Regions from separate parts of the Homo sapiens genome. Here regions 2, 3, 4 and 5 are each linked to region 1. Evidence: promoter capture Hi-C in 16 types of primary human blood cells and fetal thymus (Javierre and others, 2016). All regions are on one chromosome and are shown on one strand. Each heading gives the region's core, a stretch centred on a gene start or on the middle of the fragment in contact. The rest is flanking DNA. Distances are from core to core; before and after follow the strand shown. Region 1 holds the start of ZKSCAN7 (zinc finger with KRAB and SCAN domains 7). Region 2 overlaps KIF15 (kinesin family member 15). Region 3 holds the start of KIAA1143. Region 4 has its middle 14 kb from the start of ZNF501. Region 5 overlaps TOPAZ1 (testis and ovary specific TOPAZ 1).

Region 1 (2,700 bases), core at 191-2,690:
TGGTCTCCAATGTGGGAAATGCAGGCTATCCCAAAGGGTGCAAGAGAAAATACTAAGTTATTTAACTCCTATTTAATGTATGTTTTATAATGTGCATTACAATTTGTATAGTAGTATTCATGTTTAAATTACAAATAAACCAATGTAGGGAGTAAGTGATCAAACCTCTTCTACTGATAGAAATGCAAAATAAAGAAAGTTTGGAGCTAAAGCTCTAGAGACACACTTAGAAGCCACACATACTCTTTCTTTGAATTTTTCTTCTTCAACTTTTGGCAAACTTGTCTGTCAAGACCATGAACAAAGGCAACTTTTTCTTGGTTTTCCTGATTGCCCCATCAGGAAGAGTGCTGGTAGCTTCCCTTTGTGTACCTCTCACTATAACCCTTTAACTGGTTTATGCACAACTCACCACTCTCACCCTCCAAACTGCTGCACGGCCACCAAAGGAAAGGAACCAAATGGAATCAGAAAATACTAGACCTTTTTTTACTCAATGCACCTCCCCTAGAAAGCCTTCCTGATCACGCTAGGCTTAGAGAGGTGGTTATTGTCTCAGTGATCCCAAACTACCTTTTTCATTCAAACCTCTAGTAGAGCACATCTCACACTGTAATCGTTTGTGGTTTACACGACTGTCTCCCCTGCTTTCTGGGAGGATACAAAGGGCAGAGCTGACTTCCAGTCATCTTTGTACACGTGTGCACATGGCACACATAATTGGGAAATGAATGAATATGATACATTTAGCTGACACTGAAGTGGAGGAAAACTTTGAACGTTTTAAAATCAGCACCTTACTGGTAACTAGGGCATCTGTGCTGTGCTTCCAGTTCACCAAGAGCCCAGATCCCTGTGTCTCAATCTCTTTAAAAAGACAAAGAAGGACTTTAAAATAATCTGTAAACTCTGCTCTAAGATCCCATATATGTAGAAAGTTCAGGCCATTCTCCTGCTTCCCATAGTGTTCCGAATGCTCAGCACTTTAAAATCTCAATTGGATTTTTGCATTTCCAAGTCACGCTCCACGTTTGCGATTCTGAGCCTGGGTCTGACCCAAATATGACAGTTCATACAGTTTCCTACTGCAAGAGCTGGGAAAACAGCGATCTACCTTTCGTGTTAAACCAGGCTTCAGCAGCGCCGCTCACCTGGCCACGTCTGCCCTGTTCATCGCTGTACCCGCAGATACCCGGCTCCGTGCCACGCACGAATGGTCAGGGGTATGAGACAAAGAAGCGGCTCTACATCGGGCGGCTTCTGAGAGTCACGGGGACCGCGCCGCCTGCCGCCGGGAAGAAGCGCGGTCCTGGCCAGCGTCGGCGACCCGAGCTCCGGCCGCGCCTCCCTCCGCGTCTCGGCCCACTCGCGGTGGCACTCGGCACCGAAGCCGGACACTCTACTGCCCGTTAGACCAAAAACAATGGCCGAGCCGGAAGCGAGAGAGGCCTCGACTTCCGCCCCCTCCGGGATCCCGGAAGTCTCGTTTGCGAAGGTGGGCGCGCGCGTCCCCGCACCCGGGAGAGCTGGCAGGGCTTACTTCTCGGCTGTGCCCGGCCACCTGCCGCGGGCGGGGTCGGGGTCTCGCGAGGGCCCAGGCCACTCACATCCCGCTCTCAGGCCATAGTCGGGGGATCCAGACGCGTCCCAGCTCTACACCTTCTCCTCCAGGTGTCCTTGGGAAAGATACCCAACCTCCAAGCCTGTTTTCTCATCTGAAAAAAATGCAGAGCATAATGCGTACCTCACAGGGCTGGGAGCACCGCATGAGGTTAACAGACACTACATAGCAAAAGGCCTGGCATATCCTGAGCAGTCAGTTATACCATGTGTGATGCCCAATCTGAAGTCTCAGTGAAGGGAGCAGCAAGCATCTCCCATCTTAAAAATGAAGAAGCATGTCTAGAAATTGTGATATTTTGGCCCATAAATGTGGTTAATATTTCGTAAGACAGCACCAGCATTCTGGTGTCCATGTAGAGGTTCCTAGGGAGACCAAGAAGCAGATAAACTGAGAAGGTGTGGGGACAGTTTGTAACCTAGTAGGCAGTTGTCTAGCCTCTGGGTGGCAGGTGGTACCCAGGTGACTTTCACTTTGAAGAATGGTTTGCATACAGAAGGAGGATATGAACTGGTCCTTGTTACAAACATGGTTGAGCAGGCCCTGTGTGTTAATGACCACGGGTGAAGGGCAAAGGGTGTGATGAAGTTAACTGTGTATCTTTATTATAGCACAGGAGATAGGTCCTTTACAGGGCCCAAAGTAAACAGTCTCCTGGACTGTCTAGGGATGGCAATATTTCAAAGGTGCCCTGGGCCTAACCCTGGCCCTGACATATGTTCCTCATATATCTGTGTGAGCCAAGATAGAAACAAAGACACCAGAAGTCCTGCTCCAGAGTTTCCACAAGCTTAAAAGTAATCTCTTGGAGCAATCTTTGTCCATTGATCCTAATGGTGGTTTCCTGTCATCAAGGTCCCCCTCTCCATTTGGAAATCTCACAAGGAGGTTTTGGCTATTTAAAACCAGGAACCCCAGCCTCTGCCTGACATTGATGCTAGACATTGCCTACTGGCAAATCAAGGCCTCAGAAGCTTAGGATTCTTGAGGTGGAAGGCAAATCAAGGCCCCAGAAGCTTAGGATTCTTGAGGAGGAAATCTCCCAAGGCCAGGCTAAATGCTCTCAGACCTGATTTTCA
Region 2 (2,700 bases), core at 48-2,547, 240 kb before region 1:
AGCACTTTGAAAGGATGAGGCAGGAGGACTGCTTGAACCTAGGAGTTTGAGACGAGCCTGGGCAACAAAGTGAGATCCTACCTGTACAAAAAATAAAAAAATTAAGGCCAAGGCAGACGGATCACGAGGTCAGGAGATCGAGATCATCCTGGCTAACACGGTGAAATCCCGTCTCTACTAAAAAATACAAAAAATTAGCCGGGCGTGGTGGTGGGCGCCTGTAGTCCCAGCTGAGCAGAGATCGCACCACTGCACTCTAGCCTGGGTGACAGAGCAAGACTCTGTCTCAAAAAAATAAATAAATAAAAAATAAATAAAATAAAAATTAAAAAAATAAAAAAATTAGCCTGGCATGGTGCTGCATGCCTGTAGTTCCAGCTACACAGGAGGCTGAGGCAGGAGGATCGCTTGAGCCCAGGAAGTTGAGGCTAGAGTGAGCTGTGTTTGCACCACTGCACTCCAGCCTGGGTGACACAGCAAGACTGTGTCTCAAAAAAAAAGAAAAAACTAGTCAAGCAATAACAACCATAAGATCTAACCTAGGTCTCTAATTACATGTGTGATATAGAAGGGTAGGAAAGATAAAATAGAAATTTTGCATACAATGAGAAATAAATAAAAGTTAATGTTAATATTAGGGCAATCACAAAAATGGCATACTGTAAGCTTTAGTATTTTTCTCATTTATTTAATGAAGTATACGCCAGTATTTTACCTTGTTTTTAATCAGCTTGGCTCTTTGAGCAAAGTTAAGTGTTGATAGGGTTTCCCCAAAACACCTGGATCCAGGATGAACATTTGCAATTATGGCTGTTTTGGCATTACCTCCAAGGGAATCCTGTTTAATGATAGGAATGAACATATTTTCGGTGAGAAATCACAAGACCTTTTTAAGCAAAGAAAATGTATACTCTTGCCACCAAGGCTGAGAGACTGTCCCACTATCAACTTTAGCATAACCAAAAGGAGCCCAGGAACCCAAGGATCTACTTTACCCGTAGTAAGAAGGTAAGTTTGGAGTCTCTGTAGCAAACATGTCTCTGTTTTCCATTACCCACGTCGACAAGTGCTGTAATCACTTGGCCCAGGCAGCTCAATGATCGATTTATGTTACCTGCTTCCTAAAGTGTTGACGGAAAAGAACAAAAATTTAGGTACGTTGGTTACTCTTTGGTATTTTGAATGAAAATATATCTAGCAGAGGAAAATTCTGGATGAAAAGGCAAGTCAGGGACAATGTTAATAAAGAACAACTATTCAACAAATAAAAAAGAAGTGCTGAACTATCCCTAACCTTTTCCTATTTGATGTACACTGTAATTTTAGTATTAGAAGACAAACACAGGCTGGCACTGTGGCTCATGCTAGTCATCCCAGCACTTTGGGAGGCCGAGGTGGGCAGGTTGCTTGAGCTCAGGAGTTGGATACCAGCCTGGGCAACATGGCAAAACCCCATCTCTACAAAGAAATACAAAAAACTGCTGGGCATGGTGGCACATGCCTGTAGTCCCAGCTACTTGGGAGGCTGAGGTGGGAGGATCACTTGAGCTTGGGAGGTGGAGGTTGCAGTGAGCTGAGATTGTGCCATTGCACTACAACCTGGGTGACAGAGTGAGACCCTCTCTCAAAAACAACAACAAAAAAAGACAAACACAAAAATCATGCAAAGAAAAAAAATATTAATGTCACTTCATGATTGTAATAGTTTGAAACCGAGCTATAAAGACCAGAAAAAAATAGGGAAAAAAAAGCTAGAGTAGTGCATTAATAGGTACTTTTTTCAATCCTTTTATGCTAAAATATTTAAGGGTATAATGCCTAATAACTCACCCATACAGCCCCCAAAGCCACTGATGAACTTATTTGAGGAGAATATTCAGTTTAATTCTGTAAAGGATAATAAAAACTACTTTAAAACAGAAGCTTGGTGGGGGGAAAAAATGAGCTAAATACGTTACATTAGATTTTTACTGTAGGTAGCATATTTTGAAAACTGGGTCTGCAGTGGAAGGAGTATACAAAAAAGAGAAAAAGTCAAAATTATAATGCAAGATGTACTGAATTCAGAGTCACTGCTGTTATCATTCAGTAAATCAGAAAGGTGGTTAGTGGCATGGTTGAGAGTACTGTAGCAGCTCGGTTTGAATCTCAGCTCTACCTTTATTAGCTGTGTGACTTCGGTTTCTTTAACTGTAAAATAGAAAGAATAGCACCTACTTCCCAGAGTTGTTGGGAAGGTTAAATGAATTAATATATGTAAAGCATTTTAGAACAGACTTGGTATATGTCCTATTATAAGCATATGCTTTTTTTGACACAGAGTCTCACTCTGTCACCCAGGTTGGAGCACAGTGGCACAATCACAGCTCACTGCAATCTCGACCTCCTGGGTTCGAGGGATCCTCCCACCTCAGCCTCCCAGGTGCTAGGATTACAGGCATAAGCCACCATGCTCAACCCATATGCTATATTTATTAAGCCTCATATCTCAATAGAAATATGAGCTTTAGGCTGGGCGTGGTGGCTAACGCCTGTAATCCCAACACTTTGGGAGGCCAAGGAGGGTGGATCACCTGAGGTCAGGAGTTCAAGACCAGCCTGGCCAAAATGGTGAAACCCCATCTCTATTAAAAATACAAAATATTAGCTGGGTGTGGTGGTGGGCGCCTGTAATCTCAGCTACTTGGGAGGCTGAGGCAG
Region 3 (2,700 bases), core at 23-2,522, 210 kb before region 1:
TTTCTCTCCAATAAGGTACCATTTTGTGAGCTCATAGTCCTTGAATACTGAAAATGATGAAAGGAAAAGGAATATTTTATATGCAAAAAGGTAGCATAAGGAGGTGTTCCGATTAGGTGTGATCGACCTAAAAGATTAATGAAACAACAAACCCATCAAAAACGACTACAATTGACAGAAAGCTAGAAACATTAACGGCGTTGGAAAGCTCAAATGACAGAAGTTCACAAATTCTTAATCATCTAATCCAGGCCTCTCCTCATTACCATTCAGACCACTCACAAAGATCCCATTAAATCAGCTCATAATCAGGTTTACAAAAATAAGACTCCTTAAGAGATGTGGCAATGTGAGAAGTGGAGCACGTACACAGGCACAGCAAATGACTACGTTAGTGAAAACTGTAGGGTTTATCATAAGCAAAATGACAGTGCTCTCCTCCGTGAAAAAGAGAAAGAAATCGGACGGGTCTCCTTTAAGTGAAAATAGAGACTGTGAGAACATAAAGACATTGCTGACATCTGTGTTTTAACATTCCATTTATTTAAGGAAAGAGGAGAAAGAAATGTTTGGAATATAAATAAACCCTTCCCTATAGGAAGGTCAGAAATGTAGAAATACGCAGAAGCTGGTGGGAGCAAAAGCCGATCCTGAGACAAGGATATCTAGAGAGGTAGCCCTGGTCGGGATGTGGGAAGAGGCCTGCGAAGAAACAGCAGAACCAAGGGAAAGAAAGGGAAGAACGTCAGGTCCACTGCTCATCCCGAGCGCCTAGAACTGCGCCAGACTCCTGGCATGCGCACAGGACACTGAAGGAAGGGATGAGCTTTTCGGCTAGCGTATTGTCTTTGAGCGACAGAGCGGGATTCCCAAACGTCCCCGCCGGTCACTCAGCTCCTGCAGTTCATGCCTAGCAAGAACCTTGCGGGCGGTCCGAGGCTGCCATCCTTTCACAGCTGTATTTGGGGGCAAAAATAGGGTAACGAAGCCGGGGGCCCAGACTTACTTTTGCAGCCGGGTGCCATAGCGCCCTCACCCCTCGATCCCGAAAACAATGCAGCCGGTGCCTCCACCTCCCGACTGCACCGCGCGCGACTGAATTCCGCCCGCTCAAGATGGCCGCAAATTTGAATTTGGCGCTTGGATCGGACGTTGACGCCCGCATGGAGGCCGCCATGTTGCCCGGCCTACGCATCGGGGGCGTGGCCCAGTGACGTCACAGCTAAGCGCCTCTGTATCGTCGCGAATCCGTCGCGGAACCTGTCTTCTGTCTTTACCCAGAGCTACCATGAGCAAGCGGAACCAGGTATCGTACGTGCGGCCAGCCGAGCCGGCGTTTCTGGCCCGCTTCAAGGAACGGGTCGGCTACAGGGAGGGACCCACCGTAGAGACTAAGGTGAGCCTTCGCCAGTCGTGTTTCTTCGGAAGCGCAGCCAGCCCGCCACTTTCAACTTTTGCCTCTACTTGGAGGGTGGGTGCTGTCGGGTCCCTCTTTTCACCCGCGCTCGAACCCAATTCCGGTGGAACTCGGACCCCCAGGCTGGTTCTTTTCAAGCGACCACAGCCCCCTACGCCCAGGAAGCTCTGTAGTTTTCAGAGCGCTGCTGTGTTCCTGAAAATGAACTGACGTGTAAACCACCTGGTCCTTGGTAGATGGTAAAGAAAGATCACTTTATTGTCTCTTCTTTCTCACTTGTTTACCTCAAAAGCTGTGAGTTCGCAGGGTGAGTTAGAGTTACAGCGTCGTCCCGTATTCCAGATAAGGACACAGGCCACTCGATCAAATGACCCCCGCCCCAACCATGTCCTAGGACTCGAGTCTGGAACGTCTTCGGAGGAATGTCCTGAATCTGTTTCTATGCTTTGTTAATTAAAAATAAATAAAAATAATATAGAGAAGGTCGGGCACAGTGGCTCACGCCTGTAATCCCAGTACTTTGGGAGGCCTAGGTGGGCGGATCACCTGAGGTCAGGAGTTCGAGACCAGCAGAGCCAATAGCCAATATGGTGAAACCCCCCGTCTCTGCTAAAAATACAAAAATTAGCCGGGCATGGTGGCACATGCCTGTAGTCCCAGCTACTCCGGAGGCTGAGACAGAATCGCTCGAACCCGGGAGGTGGACGTTGCAGTGAGTTGAGATGGCGCAGCTGCACTCCAGCCTGGACAACAGAGCGAGACTCCGTCTCAAAAAAAAAAAAAAAAAGCCGGGCCTGGTGGCTCACGCCTGTAATCCCAGCGCTCTGGGAGGCTGAGGCGGCAGATCACGAGGTCAGGAGATCGAGACCATCCTGGCTAAAACAGTGAAACCGCGTCTCTACTAAAAATACAAAAAATTAGCCAGGCATGGTGGCGGGCGCCTGTAGTCCCAGCTACTCGGGAGGCTGAGGCAGGAGAATGGCGTGAACCCAGGAGGAGGAGCTTGCAGTGAGCCGAGATCGCGCCACTGCACTCCAGACTGGGCGACAGAGCGAGACTCCGTCTCAAAAAAAAGAAAAAAAAGAAGAGTAAGCAGAAGCCGTAAATATCCTGGGTCTAAATAGAAGAAGAGGAGCTTCAGGAAAGAGCCACACCTGACTATTGTTGTCTAGGGCCGGAGGGATCAGTATTGAACACATGAATGACAAGAAAGCAAAACAGCTACATTGCTGATACAGAGAAAGTTTTAGTGGTCTGGATAGAAGAGCAAACCAGCCACAACA
Region 4 (2,700 bases), core at 67-2,566, 190 kb before region 1:
AACCCCATCTCTATAAAAAGTACAAAAATTAGCAGTATCTAGTGGCGCACACCTGTAGTCCCTGCTACTTGGGAGGCTAAGGTGGGAGGATTGCTTGATCCCAGGAGGTTGAGGCTGCAGTGAGCTGTGATCACAACACTGCAGTCCAGTCTGGGAGACAGAATGAAATCCTGTCTCAAAAATATAAAAATGATGAAGGCATGTCAAAAGGATACAGGAGCCAACTAGCAGGAGTTACCAATGGCCAAATCTGGGGCAATTTGAACAAGGAATTAATGATAGTAGATAACAACTCATAAAATTCTTATTGATATAAACAATATATATATATTTTGAACACATGAGAAGGGCTAGGTCTTCCTTATAGTAGAATTTTAATAAAGTTAGGAGGAATTATGGAAATAGAAACAGTATTTGGCAAATTCCACAGTAAAAAAATTTAGCGGGCTGAATGATGGTCCCTAAAGACAACGGGTCTTGATCCTGGAACTTGTGAATGGTAACTTACGTGGTAGTTTTTGCAAAAGTGATTAAATTAACAATCTTGAGATAAGTGGATTATCCTGGATTATATAAGTGGGTCCTAAATGCCATTACACTCACACCTTTCCTTATAAACGACAGATAGAGGGAGATTAGGCACAATAGGAAATGTGAAGATGGAGGCAGAGACTGGAGTGATGTGGCTATAAGCTGAGGAATACTGGCTGCACCAGAAGCTGGAAGAGACAAGCAATGGATTCTCCCCTAAAGCCTTTGGAGAGAACATGGCCCTGCCAACATCTTGATTTGAGCAGAGTAGCTGATTTGAAACTTCTGGCATCCAGAATTCTGAGAGAATAAATTTCTGTTGTTCTAAGCCACCAAGTTTGTGATAATTTTTTATAGCGGCCATAGGAAACTAATACACAAGTGCTGTTGGAAAGACTCATCAAAGGATGCCAAAATTAGTGGCCAAAATTATGCTCAAAACCAGAGTATTTTCACAGTCTCAAAGTATCTCCCCACAAGACACTAATTACAAAAGAAAAACTAGTGACCAGGCGTGATGGCTCATGCCTGTAATCCCAGCACTTTGGGAGGCTGAGGCGGGCGGATCACAAGGTCAGGAGATCGAGACCATCCTGTGAATGGTGAAACCCCATCTCTACTAAAAATACAAAAAATTAGCCGGGCGTGGTGGCGGGCGCCTGTAGTCCCAGCTACTTGGGAGGCTGAGGCAGGAGAATGGCGTGAACCCGGGAGGTGGAGCTTGCAGTGATCCAAGACTGCACCACTGCACTCCAGCTTGGGGGACAGAGTGAGACTCTGTCTCAAAAAAAAAAAAAAGAAAAGAAAAGAAGAAAGAAAAGCTAGTAACATTACAGTGGAGAAACTAGGCAAATGTCACCTTAACTGCCTGATCAAAGTTAATATTACCAGTAATAAGTCATACTGATGCCAGACTCACGCCTGTAATCCCAGCACTTTGGGAGGCCAAGGCAGGTGGATCACCTGAGGTCGGGAGTTTGAGACCAGCCTGACCAACATGGAGAAACCCCATCTCTACTAAAAATACAAAATTAGCCGGGCATGGTGGCACATGCCTGTAATCCCAGCTACTTGGGAGGCTGAGGCAGGAGAATCGCTTGAACCTGGGAGGCAGAGGTTGCGATGAGCCTTTGCATTCCAGCCTGGGCAACAAGAGCAACAGTCCGTCTCAAAAAAAAAAAAAAAATGTCATACTGACATCATGACCTACTGATATGCACTGAGAAGGACACCTCACTCCCAAAGGCCACGAAGATCCTGCTAGGGCCTTCCTGATGTCCTTTTCAAGGATAGGGCACAAGGGCAACCGATGTCCAGTACTAAAGAGGCCAGAATCCTAGGGTATGGCAATGGCACATAAATGCCAATACAGACTCCAGGGCTTGTCTGGGGTCAAAAGGGTCAGTGTAAAGGTGTCAAATTATCCTCTCTTCTGAACGAGTCCTTTATTCTGAGATTATATCTTTCTTGTTTCTTTGAAGTTAAAATATACTTTATTTTATGAAATAATGATTTTGACAGGTGGTAGTTTATTGTACTTACTTTGCCAAAAGGTTGAAAAATCTATACCAGCGTCCAAAAAATATGTTGAAATTTACTGTCTGGGACTTCCAAACATCAAGTCCAAGTGTTGTCCAATAGAACATTCTGCCCTAGCCACCTATGGCTATTAAGCACTTGAAATGTGGCTAGAGCAACCAAGGAACTGAATTTTTCCTTCTACTTAATTATTTAAATTTAAATAGCCACAAATGGGTCGTAGCTACTGTGTTAGCGCAGTTCTAGGTATTAGTGGGATTTTTTTTTTTTAATTGTTAGGAGTCCTGCAGCCCACAAGGGATTCCCTCCCACTTTGTAAAGGTCAGAGGTGTTCTGATGTTTGACACAAAACAGCACAACATACAGTCATATCTGGCTGGATGGCTCAAGACAACCAGGGCCAGACAGTCACATTGGGAAGGAAGACACATGTCTGAGTTTCCAGGCGCCTGTTTCTGTGGCCCTTTCCCCACTCCTGGGCCTGCTCTCTCCCCCAGAAAGCAATAAACTCTACTATAGAAACTATCTTTCAACTGACACCTACTCTCACCAACCTATGGCTTCTCCCAGATCATGCATGGAGTCTTTCAGGGAGGAGAAAGAGCAGACAGAAGGCATCTGTCCAGGTTT
Region 5 (2,700 bases), core at 137-2,636, 230 kb after region 1:
ACTGAAATGAAAATTTTATCAAATAATTAAACTTACTACCTGTAATGTACCCTAGTATTTTCTTTCCCATTTTGTTGGGGAAAAAAAGTTACCACCTGCTGCATTGATCACAGCTGGCCACCTGAAAAACACTTCCAGCTCAGGTAGTAGTGGCTAGGATATTTGACACATTTGGTACGGGGTGACACAGAGTAGGCACTCAAATATTTGTTATATACATGATAGTGGTAGAAATGGTAGCTGAAGACAAATTACTGCATGAAGGCAGAAAAAACAATGCTTTTCTAGATCTAGAACGTACATGGAATTACTTTCTAATTAAAATACCTGCGAGGTGGCTTGGACTAGAGAAAGCACTAGTTTTCCAGGCTTATTTGTTAGAGAACAACAGCTGTAAGTAGATTAACAAAGTTCTATTACTAAAAGCCATGTGAAAAACATATACTATGTTGCATTGTTATGACAGCCTTTATGCTTCTGATGTGACCTGCTATTGAATATTTTTAGTTATAACAATTAGGGATATAGCAGAGATAAATAAAAACAGATCTTCTTTAAACTTCATTCTACCCACTTGTTTTATGCTTGCATTATTTATAAGATATGCCAAACTGGTTCTATCCTGTCATTTGTTCCCTTTGCTCGCCCTCTAGCGGACAGGCTACTGTGCAAGAAATAAAGATTGGAAATTGCAAACATTGGAAATAAGGAAAGCAACTGGAAACAGAAGAGAAACAATAGGTTTCAAAAGAGAGCACAGATCTGTTGAGACCACTACATTTGAATATGTATTACTGCTCTTTTAATACATATAAATATCTAATCTTATATATTATAAATTCTGGGTTAGAGAATACAATTATAAACCAATATATTAAAACATTTTAAATGTAACTTACTTTTGTAGTGGGCTCTGGCTTTGAGCCATAAACGACTCCTTCCTAAAGAAGTAATTAATCTTCTGAGAAAGGAAAAATCAATAGGGATGCTCTTTGAAATCATGAATTCTGCCACAGAGGATGACATACCAAGACTACTGCTTTCTATACAGGAACCTAGAAGCTTATTAAAAAGAAGGCTATATTGTGAGACTTCCACAGTTTCTGGAATAAAAAAAATGATATAATAAAATTCATTTATATTAAAGTGTCTCAAACCTCCATCTCATACTCCTTTTTCTTTCTCCTCCCCTTCACCCTTTCTTACCCATTATAGGACTCACAGTCACTAAAATGCAATCATTTTATATATTCTCTTTATTTTTCTTCTCCTTTTTTGAGACAGGGTCTCACTCTGTCAGCCAGGCTGGAGTGCAGTGGCATGATCTTGGCTCACTGCAACCTTCACCTCCTGGGCTCAAGTCATCCTCTCGCCTCAGCCTCCTAAGTAGCTTGGACTACAGGTCCACCAGGCCTGGCTAATTTTTATGTTTTTTTGCAGAGGCAGGGTTTCACCATGTTGCCCAGACTAGTTTCGAATTCCTGGGCTCATCTATGGCCATACCACCCTGAACACGCCCATATCGTCTGATCTCAAATTCCTGGGCTCAAGTGAACTGCCTGCCTCAGCCTCCCAAAGTGCTGGGATTACAGGCATGAGCCACCGCGCCCAACCTATCTTACATATTCTCTAAGTCAGAAACGAAAAAGCATTTGACAAAAGAAAAACCATTAACTTCCTTTGCAATAGAGAAGATAAAAAGAAGCTTGACAAAAATTTCAGAGGATGCATTAAGACCTCTGTATTTGATTCCCACATGTAACTGTGTATCTGTAGTGTCTTGAATAATTTCTCAATTCTGTTTGTATTATATCTACAGTTCAGACCTTAGCCTTATATATCCCTTGACTAAAAACAAATCATCCCCTAATAAATATTTACTGCCAAATTTAAAACAATCCTTTAATGGATTTTCTATTCCTTCAGTTATTCTTAGAAGAAAGAGAAGTCATCTTAGAGACTTCTCTTTTATTCCCTATATTCAGTCAGTTGGGTCTGTGAGCTAGACTGTAGTTCCTTACTGCTTTAGAATCTTTTAGTTATCCAGGACTTATCAGGAAATTAATCTCTCTACTTTTAGTCTTTTCCTAAACACTACTGCCAGAGGAACTTTCCTGAAACACCAATTTCATTATATCACTCCCTAGACCCAAAACTCTAGTGATCCCTTTTTATACACAGAGAAGAAAATTCCTTTAGCCTGACATTTAGGGTCTTCCAAAATCTGGCACAACTATCTGTCCAATCTCCCTATTACTACTTTGTTTCATTACCAACTAATTGTATATTAAGAGATTGCTAGATAGCAGCCATTGGGCCAGGAATACCAAGGTAAAGAAAATAGTACCATCCTGATTGAGCTCACTTTGTATAAGGAGAAACAGATAAGAATGCTCATTACAATACAGGAGCACAGTGGAATTAAGTGGAAAAATGAAAATTTATAGATAGTACGATGAAAGTACTGAGGGGAGGCCCTCAGGTTAACGTTTTCGTCATCCTCTGAACCTATCACATAGCTCATTCTTGACCCAAAGCTTTTGCTCATGGACACCCAACATTCAAGAGTACTGACTACCATTTCCCACATTGGCGTTTGAACTTGGCATCTGTTTCACTTCCTCCATTTCTTTCAAGTTTACCTGTGTTCCTAGGTAATGTAAACTAAGTTCTGTATTTATTCAGTGATAAGAGAAAAAG

The links. The method cuts DNA at HindIII sites, captures the fragments that hold promoters and counts their contacts. A CHiCAGO score of 5 or more calls a contact.
Region 2: a contact is called between a fragment that was not itself captured here and the fragment with the promoter of ZKSCAN7 in region 1, in 1 of 17 cell types (endothelial precursors). The highest score is 5.7, in endothelial precursors.
Region 3: a contact is called between the fragment with the promoter of KIAA1143 here and the fragment with the promoter of ZKSCAN7 in region 1, in 9 of 17 cell types (erythroblasts, M1 macrophages, megakaryocytes and 6 more). The highest score is 9.3, in erythroblasts.
Region 4: a contact is called between a fragment that was not itself captured here and the fragment with the promoter of ZKSCAN7 in region 1, in 1 of 17 cell types (erythroblasts). The highest score is 5.1, in erythroblasts.
Region 5: a fragment that was not itself captured here is called in contact with the fragment with the promoter of ZKSCAN7 in region 1 in 1 of 17 cell types (megakaryocytes); the score reaches 5.8 in megakaryocytes.

The regions. Positions count from the first base shown.
Region 1 is chr3:44,553,933-44,556,632 of GRCh38, reverse strand. It overlaps ZKSCAN7 (zinc finger with KRAB and SCAN domains 7), which reads right to left and starts at 1,440. Exons shown (of 6, transcript NM_001288590.2): 1 at 1,152-1,440. RefSeq lists silencers at 1,387-1,526, 1,637-1,686. The HindIII fragment of the contact is 2,808 bases long and covers 1-2,413 here.
Region 2 is chr3:44,795,972-44,798,671 of GRCh38, reverse strand. It overlaps KIF15 (kinesin family member 15), which reads right to left. Exons shown (of 35, transcript NM_020242.3): 9 at 996-1,121; 10 at 716-838. Among named protein-coding and RNA genes, the nearest start is that of KIF15, 36 kb to the right of the region's middle. The HindIII fragment of the contact is 1,257 bases long and covers 669-1,925 here.
Region 3 is chr3:44,760,191-44,762,890 of GRCh38, reverse strand. KIAA1143 reads left to right here and starts at 1,272. Exons shown (of 3, transcript NM_020696.4): 1 at 1,272-1,396. The coding sequence starts at 1,289. It overlaps KIF15 (kinesin family member 15), which reads right to left and starts at 1,097. Exons shown (of 35, transcript NM_020242.3): 1 at 1,007-1,097. The coding sequence starts at 1,025. RefSeq lists enhancers at 1,047-1,326, 2,117-2,700. The HindIII fragment of the contact is 21,704 bases long and covers 1-2,700 here.
Region 4 is chr3:44,742,188-44,744,887 of GRCh38, reverse strand. No RefSeq gene overlaps it. Among named protein-coding and RNA genes, the nearest start is that of ZNF501, 14 kb to the right of the region's middle. The HindIII fragment of the contact is 4,209 bases long and covers 1-2,700 here.
Region 5 is chr3:44,321,495-44,324,194 of GRCh38, reverse strand. TOPAZ1 (testis and ovary specific TOPAZ 1) reads right to left here. Exons shown (of 20, transcript NM_001145030.2): 18 at 900-1,103. Among named protein-coding and RNA genes, the nearest start is that of TCAIM, 16 kb to the left of the region's middle. The HindIII fragment of the contact is 643 bases long and covers 1,065-1,707 here.